5 separate regions of the Homo sapiens genome follow, and all the other regions are linked to region 1. The links are contacts of gene promoters, found by promoter capture Hi-C in human tissues and cell types (Jung and others, 2019). All regions are on one chromosome and are shown on one strand. Each heading gives the region's core, a stretch centred on a gene start or on the middle of the fragment in contact. The rest is flanking DNA. Distances are from core to core; before and after follow the strand shown. Region 1 holds the start of CSMD3 (CUB and Sushi multiple domains 3). Region 2 overlaps CSMD3 (CUB and Sushi multiple domains 3). Region 3 has its middle 780 kb from the start of CSMD3. Region 4 overlaps CSMD3 (CUB and Sushi multiple domains 3). Region 5 overlaps CSMD3 (CUB and Sushi multiple domains 3).

The links. The method cuts DNA at HindIII sites, captures the fragments that hold promoters and counts their contacts. A contact is called where the count stands out against the background at its distance.
Region 2: a fragment that was not itself captured here is called in contact with the fragment with the promoter of CSMD3 in region 1 in 1 of the 25 tissues and cell types used here (dorsolateral prefrontal cortex).
Region 3: a fragment that was not itself captured here is called in contact with the fragment with the promoter of CSMD3 in region 1 in 2 of the 25 tissues and cell types used here (lymphoblastoid cells and mesenchymal stem cells).
Region 4: a fragment that was not itself captured here is called in contact with the fragment with the promoter of CSMD3 in region 1 in 2 of the 25 tissues and cell types used here (mesenchymal stem cells and spleen).
Region 5: a fragment that was not itself captured here is called in contact with the fragment with the promoter of CSMD3 in region 1 in 2 of the 25 tissues and cell types used here (H1 embryonic stem cells and pancreas).

Annotation. Positions count from the first base shown.
Region 1 is chr8:113,435,525-113,438,389 of GRCh38, forward strand. It overlaps CSMD3 (CUB and Sushi multiple domains 3), which reads right to left and starts at 1,415. Exons shown (of 71, transcript NM_198123.2): 1 at 1,153-1,415. The coding sequence starts at 1,330. RefSeq lists enhancers at 1-509, 2,287-2,336, 2,349-2,849. The HindIII fragment of the contact is 9,532 bases long and covers 1-2,865 here.
Region 2 is chr8:112,457,211-112,460,075 of GRCh38, forward strand. All of the region lies in intron 32 of CSMD3 (CUB and Sushi multiple domains 3), which reads right to left. Among named protein-coding and RNA genes, the nearest start is that of MIR2053, 180 kb to the right of the region's middle. The HindIII fragment of the contact is 3,506 bases long and covers 1-2,865 here.
Region 3 is chr8:114,211,806-114,214,670 of GRCh38, forward strand. No RefSeq gene overlaps it. Among named protein-coding and RNA genes, the nearest start is that of CSMD3, 780 kb to the left of the region's middle. The HindIII fragment of the contact is 5,366 bases long and covers 1-2,865 here.
Region 4 is chr8:112,726,464-112,729,328 of GRCh38, forward strand. The region is part of intron 13 of CSMD3 (CUB and Sushi multiple domains 3); the gene reads right to left. Among named protein-coding and RNA genes, the nearest start is that of MIR2053, 84 kb to the left of the region's middle. The HindIII fragment of the contact is 5,790 bases long and covers 1-2,865 here.
Region 5 is chr8:112,880,188-112,883,052 of GRCh38, forward strand. The region is part of intron 10 of CSMD3 (CUB and Sushi multiple domains 3); the gene reads right to left. Among named protein-coding and RNA genes, the nearest start is that of MIR2053, 240 kb to the left of the region's middle. The HindIII fragment of the contact is 4,683 bases long and covers 1-2,865 here.

The sequences.
Region 1 (2,865 bases), core at 165-2,664:
AGGCACTCCTTTACAAAGGAAGAAGCGTCCAGTTTGTGTTGACAGCCCTGGCGCGCCTGGGCCAAAACAGCACCCCCTTTCCCGCGATCCCCCGCCCCCCCGCGACACACAGACACCCGGGATTTGAAACTAGCTTCACTGAAAGCGGCATCCATAGCGTCTATTCGAGCTGCCATGAGTATGGAGAGGTGATTGTTCAAAAAATGATGGCATGAGTCATAAACACCTCCTGAGTATTCTTTGCAGCAATTAATGGGCAGCAGGGTGCCGGAGAAGTTGTGGAAGAGAGCTATGGATCTATTTTCTCCCTAAGGACAGCTCTTTTTCCCATGATCCTGACTGTCCCTTGCCTTCCTGCTTGGGAATACATTTTTACATCCCACCTACCCCCTCCCCTATCTGTGCATGTGACACTCACTCTACCTGTCTGAACGCTGAGACTTGCTGGGGATTTTCTTTTGGTCGTCAGCTAATGACTTTCCTCCTACCTCATTCATCCCTTAAGGTGGTTCTTTACACTTCATGGCATTTCAGACCCTTCGAAAGCCTCATTTTTTGCCAAACCTCTACCACAGGTCCTAGGGAAGCTCCCCTACATTTAACATTGCATAGAAGCCCAATTTACATACATATGCATGCAGACATTCATGTTGATGTGGCAGTGCTTGGAAGATCCCTGTGCCCTAATGCATTTAAAATCAACACATTCCTAGCACGTCGATAACTTTCTTCCCTGAAAGGGTTAAAAAGCATTTAGACCAGCGTCTTTAATATATATATTCCACCCAAAGCCTCAAGCCCTAGTGATCTGACAAGAAATCAAGGTAATCCTCACCACTAAGAAAAGTCTTGCAGAGGAATTCTGCCTGGATATCCACTAGTTAGAGGCTATACTAACCAACTCACGTATTCGTTTGAGCATACTGCAAGAATATTTATTGAGCACAAGCTCAATCACCGCATTGAACGCCAAATCTGGCAAGCAAAATGCATTTCCTATCTGAGGGGGGGAGAACGAGCTGTGAATCAACTCCTTTAGTATTATCAGATTATTTTATCGGTGCAAATTGCAAAGTAAGCTGCCAGCCTCTCTCCATCTACAAGTCAGCCCACCTCCATCCAAAGCGGAGGGGACCCCCAAAGCAGACCTACCTTTCACACAAGACACCGTCAATAAAAAGACGAGGTTCCAAAACGTAAATCCACTTTTAATCCCCATTTTCTTCATCAGGATGAAGTCTAGGCGGCCACATTTAGCGCATCTTCGCTTGCCAGGCTCCCAGGGTTTGGATTCCTTTGCTCGGCTTTCCCCTTTGCGGATCCCTTTCATATTATTCGCGAGCTCCTAATTCCTGCTCCTCAGCCCGGCGCAGTGGAGTTGTTGCTGTTGTTGGTGCGCGGTCACAGCTCGGAGTGAATGGTGTTTCTGGGATACCACAGCAACCTTGACGAGGACTCAACCATCTCTCCAACGGGGGCACAAAGTCTCCGCTACTCTGGATTCTGTCTTTTCTTGTGCGTTTTTTCCCCTCCACCAAAATCTACCCCAATTCTGGCTCGTTATAGCAACCACCAGAAACCACTAGTGAGCCTCTTAAAGCCCACCTCTGCTCTCTGATAAACTCCACACAATATTTGAAATTAAGGGGCTTGCTTTTTTTCCCCGAATAGATCAATTCTGCCTGTAAAAGCAGCCCAAGAAATAATGTTAGTGAGCTCTCCGTTGCAGGCTGCGAATACAGAAGCATGTCAAAGGAATATTTTAATCGGAGGATCTGTGTTGCTTTTGGGGAAACCGTGACGATAATGAATCGGGCTCCATCGATGCCCACGTCGTTATAATGGGACATGTGTTACTACTGTAGTTGCAGTATATTTCAGGCAGGCTTCTCCCATTTATTATCCTGTGATTTAATTGAAAAAGGAAATCACAGAGAATTTTCTCAATAAATTCTGCCTTCACACGGAAAAGAATGTATTTGAACACATGTATTTACATACTCAAATAACTACGTGTAAACCCTTCACCGGGTTTTTATGATTCGGGAAACGGATTTCATCCGTGGCCTGGGCGGGGGTGGGGTGGGGAGGGAAGTCAATGTCGTTTCCTCAAATAGTTCTCCCTTTCATCCTCCCAACCCCCTTTTCAGTTTGTGTGTGCCGCAGTTAAACTACTTTATCTGTGGTAGTTATCTAGAACAAACCCATTTGTCTTAATTCTGAATCGGTACCAAATATGTAAATAGGAGGTTTCTTTCAAAACGAAAAATGTATGTATCTATACATCTGGATCTGCTTCCCCCATGCACCACGCAAGGGTTAAGATTGCACAAGGGAAGAGTTCTTGCGCCATCTACTGGCCGTCTCCGAGCCGCCCGTTCTTCCTTCGCATGTATAAGGGACCCTGTTTTTGCCATCCCTTGGTGTCAGGGGAGCTGTGTCCCCGGGACCAGTATGTCGTGCTCCTTGATTTTTTTCGACCACGGTCCTGGCCCAAATCTTTCAATGAACAAGTTCCTTAGATTAGGCAACTGATTGGTGATCTGACCTTTTCGGGAATCTGGTCCCCTCTCAGCAGTGGGGAGTGCCACAGCGCTAGTTCTGAAACAGGATATTGCTGTTGCGTGTGGCTCCATTTAACTGCCTCAGGCTATCATGGGCGTGAGCGTCTATCAACAAGGCTTAGTCTAGAGGACTGCCCAACTTGAGTTTGCAGCTCCCTGCACTGTGCACAAATAATGGGTTTGGTCCCGTGCACCACAGCATTACCCTGGCCAGCTTTGTCCCTTGGCTCGCGTTGGAGCTGCCCGCTCAGCAGAGGAAGGCGTTAGAATCTGGAAGGAGTTCCGCTCTGGGAAGTGGGCA
Region 2 (2,865 bases), core at 124-2,623, 980 kb before region 1:
TAATTGGACACATGCTTGGCTAGTCAGATGGAGTTTTTCCTCTGCCCTATTTATTTTGTACCACCAACACCCTAGATAGAAGTTTCCCTGCATGGGGAATGGAGTGAAGAGAATTCACAGGCGAGTGAGAGAACTGGATTGTTCAGAAATAGTAAGCCTGTACAATTTTATCAAGAATTTACAGTCTAAACTGAATTCTTAAAAGGTATAATGCTACTAGAATCCTACAGCATGCTCTGTGACCCATATTTCCTGCAGAATGATATTTCAGTTAATTCTACGGAGAAATGTCTTTTAAAGCTCTTATATGAAATGATACAGTTCTCATATCACAAATTTAAATGTTCAAGAAATGTAATTTCTCATCTTATCCAGAGTTTTATCTAAATGTCTAAAATGTAGAGAATGCCAGGCCAGAGTAAAGTTGAGGAATTTAGGAGCAGGGAATAGGTGAAGAGGAACTGGGAAGAGGCTAAAATGAAGCATTTAGGCCTCCTCATTCCTTTCTAATCTCAAAGTGTCAGTCCAGAGTTTGTGGCTCCATACTCCTTATCTTGGCTGTAAGATAACTCCTGGACTAGCTTCTCCCAGCTGCATATGAATGTCTAAATGCTTAGGACTGTGTCAAGATTGATGCTTACCCACATTTTTTCCAAGAATGGAGGAGTGATCAACTAAGCAAACATTTGGTTAATGATTAAGCTAATACCTTGGTAAATAAATATGGTAAATAAGTATCTGGAAGAAACATAGAAAATGTCCTCCTCACCCAGGATAAAGGATTACTTAATTCATTGATTAATTCAATTGTTTGCATTTTCAGTAAATACATATTGAGATTTGTTTTAATGTGCAAAAAATTGTCAAGCTCTTTTATTTTTTCAATAATAAAAAAATACAACCTTTGATCACAAAGAGATGACATATTAGCGCAGTATTTTCATTGAGCTGCAACTTTGTAAAGACAGTCCCCTTCAAATACGTACACACACACACACTCACACCCACACACACACAGAGAAACAGAGATAGAGAAAATATCCATATTGGCTTATTAAAGACACTTAGCATCCTTAGAGAAAATAAGCCTAAAATATTTTTTAAACCCCATGTTTCCAAATTTTGCTGGACTTTATGTCCCTGTCCTCTCACCCAGATATGTTAGTTTACCCTCCCAAAGTCTTGGGTAAAGTTGGTTTAGTGAATTCTAAATAAAGAAATGTCTCTAGAGTAGATAAGAACATTTCTTCCAGCTGTAGTAGTTTGAAATAAACTTTTCATTAGTACATCACACTACTTCCTGGTATCCTTAAATGTCAATAAGCTTGTGACTATAATTTTTAAAGTAATTATATGCTTTTGTCCAAGGAGTAGTTATTTCCACCAACATGAAGCGTTCTAGGCAAAAGGCCAAGACTGCCAAGCTTGCCAGATATTCTCTCACAAAAAGAGTTGGAAATTGGTATTGTGATTTATAAATCAGTCCCTTTGGGTTTGATGAGTGGAAAACAATGTGAACCTGTCTCCTGAAGTGTGAATACTTTCTGAGGTAGCTGACAACACTGAATTTCTGAAACTGCAAAGCTGGTGATTGGACACTGAATTCATATCTCAAGTCTAGACATCAGGAAGGGCTTTGACAGCAGTTCTCAAGGTCTTTGTAATATCACTTGCTCCTTTCTACTCATGTGCCTGCTGCCATCATTAGAGACCATGAATTACACTAGAATATTGACATACACACATACTCAGGCACATACACAGATCTCACTCATCCCTACTATCTTCTACAAACAATGAATGCTTCCTCCCTTCTCCACTGCCTAAATTAATCCCCTCATTGTTTCTCATCCATACCTCTGAAACAACCACTCTCTCCCTGCCACAAATAATATTAACTAAAATGTCCAACGGGTTTTGTTAATCCCCTGCAAAATAGCTTAATTAGTTACTATGGTACAGGAGATACATTTCAACCTCCTTCTCATCCTTCGATTTTCAGCATACTGCAGTTTTCACTCATCTCCCTAATCTAAATTTGATCCTCCTGTTATCCTTTCTCATTATACTTTGGGTTTTTTTTCCTCACCCTTCATGCTCACTAGCCAAATTTGTGCTCATAATTGTGTGTGTGTTGTGTGTGTGTGTGGGGGGGGGGGGTTTATTCAATTATGTTTACAAGGTAATTCTCAAAATATTTAATCAGTATGACGTGGGTACAGAAGAGTCAAAAGTGTTGCTAGGCTGGGGAAGGGCCAGCGGCCAGAGAATTATGGAGCAATTTTAGAGATTGGAAAAGTGGCTATTTGTCAGTACATGTAAATGTTTCAAAATTCTAACAACTGAAAATTGTTGTGCCCTTAAGTACCAGGTGAATATTATCCCTGGGTTATCTGACTACTCAATTAGACAATATACTAACAAGAACAATTAAGCATTTCTGTTTCATTGGGCATTAGGTAGCCTCAGCCTAGCAAATAATTCTCTGAAGCAAAGTGAGAACACAATAAGCATTTGTTGAATTGATTTAACATGGCATACCAGGCACTTCATAATCTGGTCTCTGCCTTCTTTACCAGTTTCAAGCATATTAGTTCCTGACTAGTACTTTGCTCTTCAACTAGAGATAAAAATATATAGTCCCTTTCAGAAAACATATGCCATATCTCTACATCTTTCCTTGTGTTGTTCTTTTTGGCTGGAATGTCCTTCTCCAGCTAACAATTACACATTCATTAAGACTTAGGTCATGTGCCATCTCATCAGATCAATGTTTCTGTCACGGTTATCCCCATTTCTCAAATCAGCCACCAGCCTGCCTTAGCTGTTCCTCCTCTGTTTACCCATAGCATGCTTACAAACGGT
Region 3 (2,865 bases), core at 248-2,747, 780 kb after region 1:
TGGTGCTAACCTTGATCACTTGATTAAGATTCTATCTGCCAAATCTTGTTTTGTTTTTGTTTTTTTCCATACTCTATTCTTTGGAAACTAGTCACTAAATTCAGCCTCCGCTCTAGAGGATAAGAATTAAGCTTCATCTCCTAGAAAAGAGAATATCTATACATATTATTTGGAATTATATATTTTTTTAAATGTAACCTTTTAACCCTCACATTTTAAGTAAACGTTGGCTCTGTATTTTCTGGAGTTCGAAGTACAAATACTTTATTATGATATAAAATGTTTTCTGTAATCAGATACTTGCTTGACCTGCTAACTTTATTTCTTATTCCAGAAATTAGGTCCAGAAATTAAATCCAGAAATTACTCTCTCTAGTAACCTGTGATGACAAATACAATTTGTTATGAATGTAGCACAGAATGAATGGGGGTGGAGGGAAAGAGGGAGGGAAAGAGGGAGAAAGGTGAGAAGAAGGAAGACAGAGAAAAAAGTAATACAAGGAAACAAATTCAAATTCTGTCTTTTTTGGGAGATAAAACGCTAAAAGCTGCAAACAACTCTCATTTGATTTGTTTTCACTTTCTGTGTTATTTTCTATCTAGTGCTCTGCTTTAAGCAAGAATTCCATGTACAAAAATTGCCTTTACTAAAATGCCATTTATAATGGGATAGGTCAAGTATACAGAATTGAGCCCAGAGCCTTTTTCATTAGCATTTTTAAGAATATTTGTAACTTTCACTTTCAAGGCATTTCAGGAGCATGCATGGTCTGTGCCAGCATTTTCCTCGTTTCTTCGTAGTATGCATATTTCTGATTATTAACCTGAGGAAAACATTTTATTAGGGTTTCCTTGTATTCAAGCAATTTATTTTTTTCATACCATGAGAAATGTCACTGCCATTGACTCTCCCTCTTGCTTATTTTACATTCATTAGGGTATATACAAATATATCTCTTCTCAGTAATTCTGTAGTAATATTTTGTAAGACGGGACAAAGCACATTATATGTGTAAAGAGCATTCATGTTTCTGGGCAAATGATATTCTTCTATGCAGTTTTTCAGTGTACTTTACAAGATTTTAAAGATTATTCTTTTCATTATTTATTTCCCTGGCTTATCATGTATCATACTAATTAATCATTTTGTTTCAGTGGCATTTTAATTGTTTTGAAAACCTATTGCTATATTGGTAGATATATTTTACTTTTTCAGTTAAAAGGTGATACAATTGAAAATTCATTTTGTAAAAATTGGTTATAAAATAAAAATCTATATAACATTTGTTTTAAAAGAAAATTTACATAACATAAATAAAAATGCAGATGTTCAAACATGCTGTTTCCAATGCTAATTTTCATTAACTCACAAATTTTTCTATAATTTGTGTGAAGCTACAGCTTATTTTGCATATTCCAAATTATTCTATTATTATACATTTATGTTGAAAAATGCAAACTCACTGTTCTATCACTATTAAAGGCATACATAATAGTTATCGTCAATTTTCATTCACTAGAATCACAAAATAATGTAAGAATTATAATTTTGTATGAGTAAGACAATTCTACATATAAAATTAGTAGCACAGGTGTTTATTTAAATGTTTATAAAGAGTATTTGAAACTTCAGACAATGGTATATAAGTATTCTTGATGAAATAAATATTTAAATAGAAAGCTATTGGGTTTTTCCTAAATTATATTTACCTGGAGAAATGGTGTTTATGAACTTTTAGACTTATAATCTCTTTCTCTTTCTCACTCTCTTCTGATAAATTGATATTTATCTAATCTAGCTGTCTTTTATCATCTACATTAAAATGCACACCATCAGAAAATTTCAAAGAGCTATTTTACTTTTGGTGACTACCAGAAAATTGCATATTTTTCTGAAACTCAATGTCATAGAGCATATGACAGCGGCCTCCTGGATAATTTTGCTTAATCGCCAAAAAAAAGCTTAATTCTTAACTCATAATTCTTAATAACAATGTCACCAATGGCAAGAGTTAAAGAGAAATATGAGTTATTTTGCTCAACATTATTTTGTCAGACATCTATATTGTTTCGTGTGATTTTTTTATTTTTGTATAATGTTTCATTACATGAGGATAGTAAATTGTACTATTAATAGAATTTTATTCTGAGTTTGAGACAGTTATGAATAGTGCTTCTCAATATTTTTTCTCATCTTTGATGAATATGTGTGCGCCTTGTTGTATATATACAAATATGTATTAGTTACTAAATTATAGAGTATGCATAATGTTCAGATTTTGTAGAAGTTATCAAAAATTTCCAAAAAATGATGTTGAGAGAAAAATAATCAGACACAAAAGAGTACATACACTATAATTTAATTGATATAATTTAAAGTATCAAAACAGAAAGATTAACTCTGTTTTAAATTTTAAGAATTCAGAATTTTATCTATCCTGACAGAGGAAGGTAGTGACTAAAAGTAGGCAGAAAGAGAGTTCACAGTATTCTGCTAAAAATCTGTCTTTTCATTTGGGTTCTAATTCAGCGGTATATTCAAATACTTATCAAATCGATAAGTATATGTGCCTTTTTATGATTCTTGCACTTTATATATATATATCATAATTAAAATTTTACATTAAAATGAAATATAGCAATTTATTCCAAGAATAGTGAGAATGGTTTCTTAGACAATCCTAGGCTTCTCTTAGCTCTTCCATATGTCAAAACCACATATAACATTACTAAAATATTAACCAATGTTTACGTATGTTAAAACAACTAATTGTGTGTTGTACACAGTACAAATGACTCTACAGTTTTATATGCATTCATCTAACAATATTTATCAAGAAGCAGCTATGTGCTAAATACTAAGAT
Region 4 (2,865 bases), core at 214-2,713, 710 kb before region 1:
AGCAGGAAATGGATTAGCAAAGAAAGTAGTTGAAGGTGGTTAGAGAAGGTATATATATAAAAGAGAAGATCATATATTTTTCTAAACCTAGTATTAAGCAGAGTGTTAGGTGCATAGTATACTCAGACCAGTGTTTGTTAAATTACATATGGAGCTTGGATTTAGGCTGTCTTTTGGAAGAAGAGACATTACTCATCCAACCAACAGGATTTTAGCCTTTCCTATTTTGAAATTCTTCCTTTTCTCATAACTTTATTTGCAAAGTTATAACAACAACGTAATGAAAGATAATCCAAATACTATAGATGCGTCATTAAATTTTTAAAAAGATACGGAAAAAAGGAAAATTTGATTATTGATGTAATGTATTAGATTTAATGCTTGATCAATAACACTAAGCAACAAAATGATATTACATCAAATTAGTAAATATAAGAACCAATGGGAATATGATTCAAGAGAAAATGACTGATTAAAGCTCATTTTATTTCTCAATATAGTTCATGACCAAGCAAAGAATTCTAAAAAATAAAGACAAAAATGACTATGCTTCTTAAATTTATTTAGCCTCATTCTTCAGGTATTTATTTCTGAACAACAAAAAATACAGACTATATTAAAAAATCTCATATGCTGTTAAAATCTATTATTTTTCTGGAACTATACAAATGTATAATTATTTTGAATAATTATAGAATTTTCCTGATTTGTATCATATACAGTAAACATTTCATATATTGTGTTAAGGGAAGTTTTGATGAGTTATAAAGTTCTCAACAAAAATGTATCAAAAAGATAAGTCATGAACTGCGTCTGATTTTCCACAAACTGAATATACTGCAATTAATTGGTTGTAGTGCTATAGATATGAGATTATGAGCAAAGCAACATAAACATAAAGGGTCTATTTTATTGAGTGGACATAATCTTCTATGGCTCCTTTCCAACTCTGTCTAGTGTGTGAACAAGATATTTTCTGTTGAATTAAACTAACAAAGAGGGTGAGTGAGCATTTAAACCCCAAGGACTATTCTTGGAGGGTGTTACACACTGCTTCAAGATTCTTAATGACTTCAGTTTAAATGGCATAATTTTCTTTCTCAGTTTGCAAATTGGCTTTTAAAAAATACTGACCATCAGCCTATATATATATCTAATTAAAAAGAATAAAATCAAAACTTAATATTTCCATTTTTATATGAAAGTCATTGTATACTATCTGTGATTTTACAAGTACAATTACTGTGATCTAGGATTGATTATTGATCTATTTTATGTTACTTTTTACAATAAGTATATTTTACCCATATCTTATTCAAAATGAAGTGGAACAGTAAAATACTGTCGGATTCTAAATGGCATTTTTAAACTGTTTAAAATGTGAATTCATTCTATGTGAAGTAATTTCATTAACCAAAAAACATAGCGTAATTTTGAAAAAGTCAAATAATTAAATCTTAGTGTCTAAAATTTGACTTATCATATTTTCCAGACTGTAAACTCTTGTGTTACATTGGCAACAATTTGAAATTATCTGGTGTAATGCTAATTTCCTTTTCCAACAGGCATTTTCTTGTTGTTTATCATAAAAGACAAAAGGCATTAACACTATAGTTAATTAGGGGTAGTCATGTGATAGAAAATGCAGATTGTTGGGAAGAATTAAAGCTTTGTCAGCTAGATTTCTAACTCCCCTTCATTAAGATTAGATAAAGTGCTCTCAAGACAGTAAACTGATTATGACAACCAAATTTTTCAAGTAAATTTATTTAGATGAATAGCTTAGGAAATTGAACAATAAAAACAGAGGTAACATAAAGTTCCAAAACACTGAACAAAAAAAATATGAGTTAGATGTAATTTATATGCTTATAATTTTACTAAAAACAATAAAGAATTAAAATAAGTTATATATCTATACACGTATGTATGTAAATATCAATAGAGGTTAATTGTTAGAAACAAAATGGACATATACAAAACCAAAACTTCCTCCTATATTTCTACTTTTTGAGAACGAAGACTGTTAACAGTTTTACTCTTTCAGCCTTATTCATACCTATATTCTGTTATTGTTGTTTTGAACAAAAATGTGTCACAAGTAAAGTTCTACATAACAAGACCACCTTTGCTAGCCAAGCCCCTTCTTCTCCTCCTCCCATAATGTATTTTGCCATGATACAAGCCCCCATTCTTTCTGTAACTTCAAGAAGGAATATGAGTTTCTGAACTCCATTGAGGAATGGGGAGTAATCACTCTGTGGTTCTCACCACGTGCACATTAATAAATTTGCATGCCATTTCTCCTATTTAAAACAAATAAGTAAAGTTCTGCTTCTGATATTTGTTTGATTATTTCGGCAATTATGGACACCATACAATATCTATATGTACAAATTATTATTCATTTTTAAAAATTAAAATAACTTTTAAAATTGCATTACATAATAGACATCAGCAAACTGAGGGAATTTAAGAGTTACATATACATATATACACATACATATACAAACACACATATATATATTTTACATAGTACAAATAATGCTTCAAAAACTGACATTTTTATTTTTGTTAAGCTGAATATTTCTGTGGAACAAGTTTTTGAAAGTAAAATTTTGAATCAAAAGTTATGTACTTTTTCTGTTTGTTTTAATATATTGCAAAACTGTATCTCCAGATGATTTTGTCAAAGTACACTCTCACCAAAAGTGAATGAGAGTGCAGGAATGAGAAGGTGAAAAGGCATGAGATCCAGAGCAAAAGAACAAGAGTGTTCTTAGAGCAGGGGTGAGGGAGGAGGGGCCAATCTTTCATTTAACAGGAAGGATGAACAATAGAAGAGTAGTGATAGTACCAGTTTTG
Region 5 (2,865 bases), core at 239-2,738, 560 kb before region 1:
ATCACTTGTAATTCTAGACAATCTTTCTTTCTAGAAAAAATCAAATGAATATTGATGATCTGTTACAATTATTTTTGGAGATAGTTATTCAACACTAAACATTGACTTAGAATGTTTCAATGCAAAAAGAATAAGGTGGGATCCTACGCTTAAGGAGCTTGCAGTCTTAAATGGATACAAACAGGCCCTTGTAATAATAGCCTATAAGTACTAAGATAAAAGTAATCAGGAGTTATGGAACCATAAAAGAATAGACATTTTCGCTACCCTGATTTTAGAGAAGGCATCCTGGTGGTGATGTCAGAACTGAATCTCGAAAAGTCAGGATGCATAATCTTAGAATAGAAATTCAAAATGGACTTCTAGGCAGGGGGAAAGACACACTAAACAGCACATTGAATACAGAAAAACTCTGGAATTCCCAGAACATCTAAGGTCGTTGGGATTTGGGGCAATTCTTTTGATGGTGCTGGGGATGTAAATAAATGCCTATTCAAGGGGGTCATATATGATAGGCTACTACAGTTGTTGGATTTTTGTTTTTTTGTCAAGCTAAGGGGGGATACTTTGTGGATATCCAAAAGGCACTTGACTTACCTATGTCTAGCTTTAAGGAGATCGATCCAGCTGCCATATACAGATGGATTTAAGAGAGTAATATGGTAAGCCTATATGCAAGACTACAGGAAGTCCAGTCTTATAACTTTTCTCATATACTATAAAATCCTTAAAAATGTAGCTGTTTTCACTTTCTACATATTTATTTGACAAATACAATTGTATATATTTATTATGTACAACATGGTTTGAAATATCCATTTAGTTTAAATGCAGAGACATTTATTCATTTATGTATATATTCAGTCACTCATTCAACCTACACTATGTATTAAAGAACTATGATGCACTCAACTCTATGAGAATAATCACACAGTTGTGAACCAGGCCCTCCTTCATGCACCTCACGTTACAGGGAGAGAGACAAACAGGAAACAACCCAAACAAGTTGATTATATAATCATGAAACAACTGCTACAAAATAAAAGTATGGGGTGTCCTGAGGGTGTATATTTGGGGACTTACAACATTTTGAGGAGTCATATTAGAAAGTACTGTTTTTTATTTTTAAACGAATTAAAGGCTCATTAATACAAGATAATGGAAGGCATGGTAAAGACAAAGCATGTTAAAAATCTGGACTAAACAGCATTTTTTAAAGACATTAAATTGCATTTCTTTCAAATGTATCTAACAACCAAAGTGTTAACATTTTCTTACAATCCTATAAATATGTTTCTATGAATTGTTAAGAATTATTGTGAACAGGTTGTAGCCCTTGGTATGAAAATGATGCTGCTAAGCAATTTTTAAAGTAACTTGAAACAGGTTCTTTTTAGGTAGATTTACTGTTTTCTGCACTCCAATCTTTTTATTTTACTGAAGGGCTTAACAAATCCTTGGTGATATGAAGGCAGCATAATAGCCAACCGTTTCCCAAAATAATGAGGTTTCATTAGAAACTTTTTCCTGCTTAACAACAAGTAGAATATTCCCCTAAAGTGGCATTCAAGACCTTTACAAAGGGAAATAAAGGAAAGAGAAAAAGGAACAAATTCTTCCCGATTAGGAGACTACTGCTGGGAATTGGGTCAGTGAATCCTAGGATATGAGAAACACTTATTTACAGGAGAGTCTATTTCTCTATGCAAAATAATAATATTTTTAAAAAATATTATTGATTAATTCCAGGAACAAACATAATATTGTACAGAATGTCAACTGTCAAGGTCCCTGATCCCTAATTGAGTTTATTTTACTCATTCCTTTTTCTGGGAGACTGGTAGGTAGAATGGTATAATTATATCAATCTAAGAAAAAATTCTGAAAATCAAAAAGAAATCAGAAATAGGGAAGCCTTAGCATAAAACTATCATTCAGAGCTATACAGATGTGAAAGGACAAGAAAATCTCAGGACCCCAGAGTCTTTATGTCAAAAGGAAAAATTAAGCTTGGAAACTGAGTCTCAAGCAAAAATCTGCCTTTCCTTTTGTTACTAACCAGCAACAAGATACAAGACCACATGTCTCCCCAGGTAGCTTCCTTCACCCTGACAATGTAAATTAACAGCTTCTCTTTGCAGGTAAGAGACAAAGATAAGACTAGAAATCATCCCTTGCCCACCCTTGAGAAAAATGCAGATTTACTGAGCATGACAATGCATAAATGACTGTTTCCCTACAAGCTTCCTTTGCACATGGATTCTGTAAAAGCTCATTAAAGCCTCATAGGAATGTGTCCCCTTATTTCACTACCTACTCTACTTTCTTTGCTTTCCTCTTTTCCCCTCCTTCCCACTCTTTTCCCTTTATTTATTGAAGATCTCAAGATCCCCTTTGGAAAGCGTGTGAACCACAGATCCTACTGTGGCTTGTGTCTCATTTTCTTGGGCACATCCTCAATCTTGACAAAATAAACCTCTAAATTAATTGAGACTTGTCTCAGACACTCTTCGGTTTACATTGAACAAATACATTTGTCCTAAATTATGTAGACACTGGATGGCAAAAGAAAATGAATCCATCCTTTATCTGCCACACTGAAACAAGTTGAATGACACTTAAGAAACTTTTGATGCCCATAAACAGGTTAAAGACTTTTCATAACAGGAACTCCAAGAAATAATTTCTTTAGCCTAATAAGTTGACAGGCAAATTAGCTGAATCAGATCTCTCAAAATTCTAAATAAGAAAAAATACACAAAAGCTCATATTTAAGATTGAGAAGTGAAATATAAATGTCAAAATCAGATGCTGCATTCTGAAAAGCACACAGTGGGCCCACCTGGTAAATGTGAAGGGAGTGGT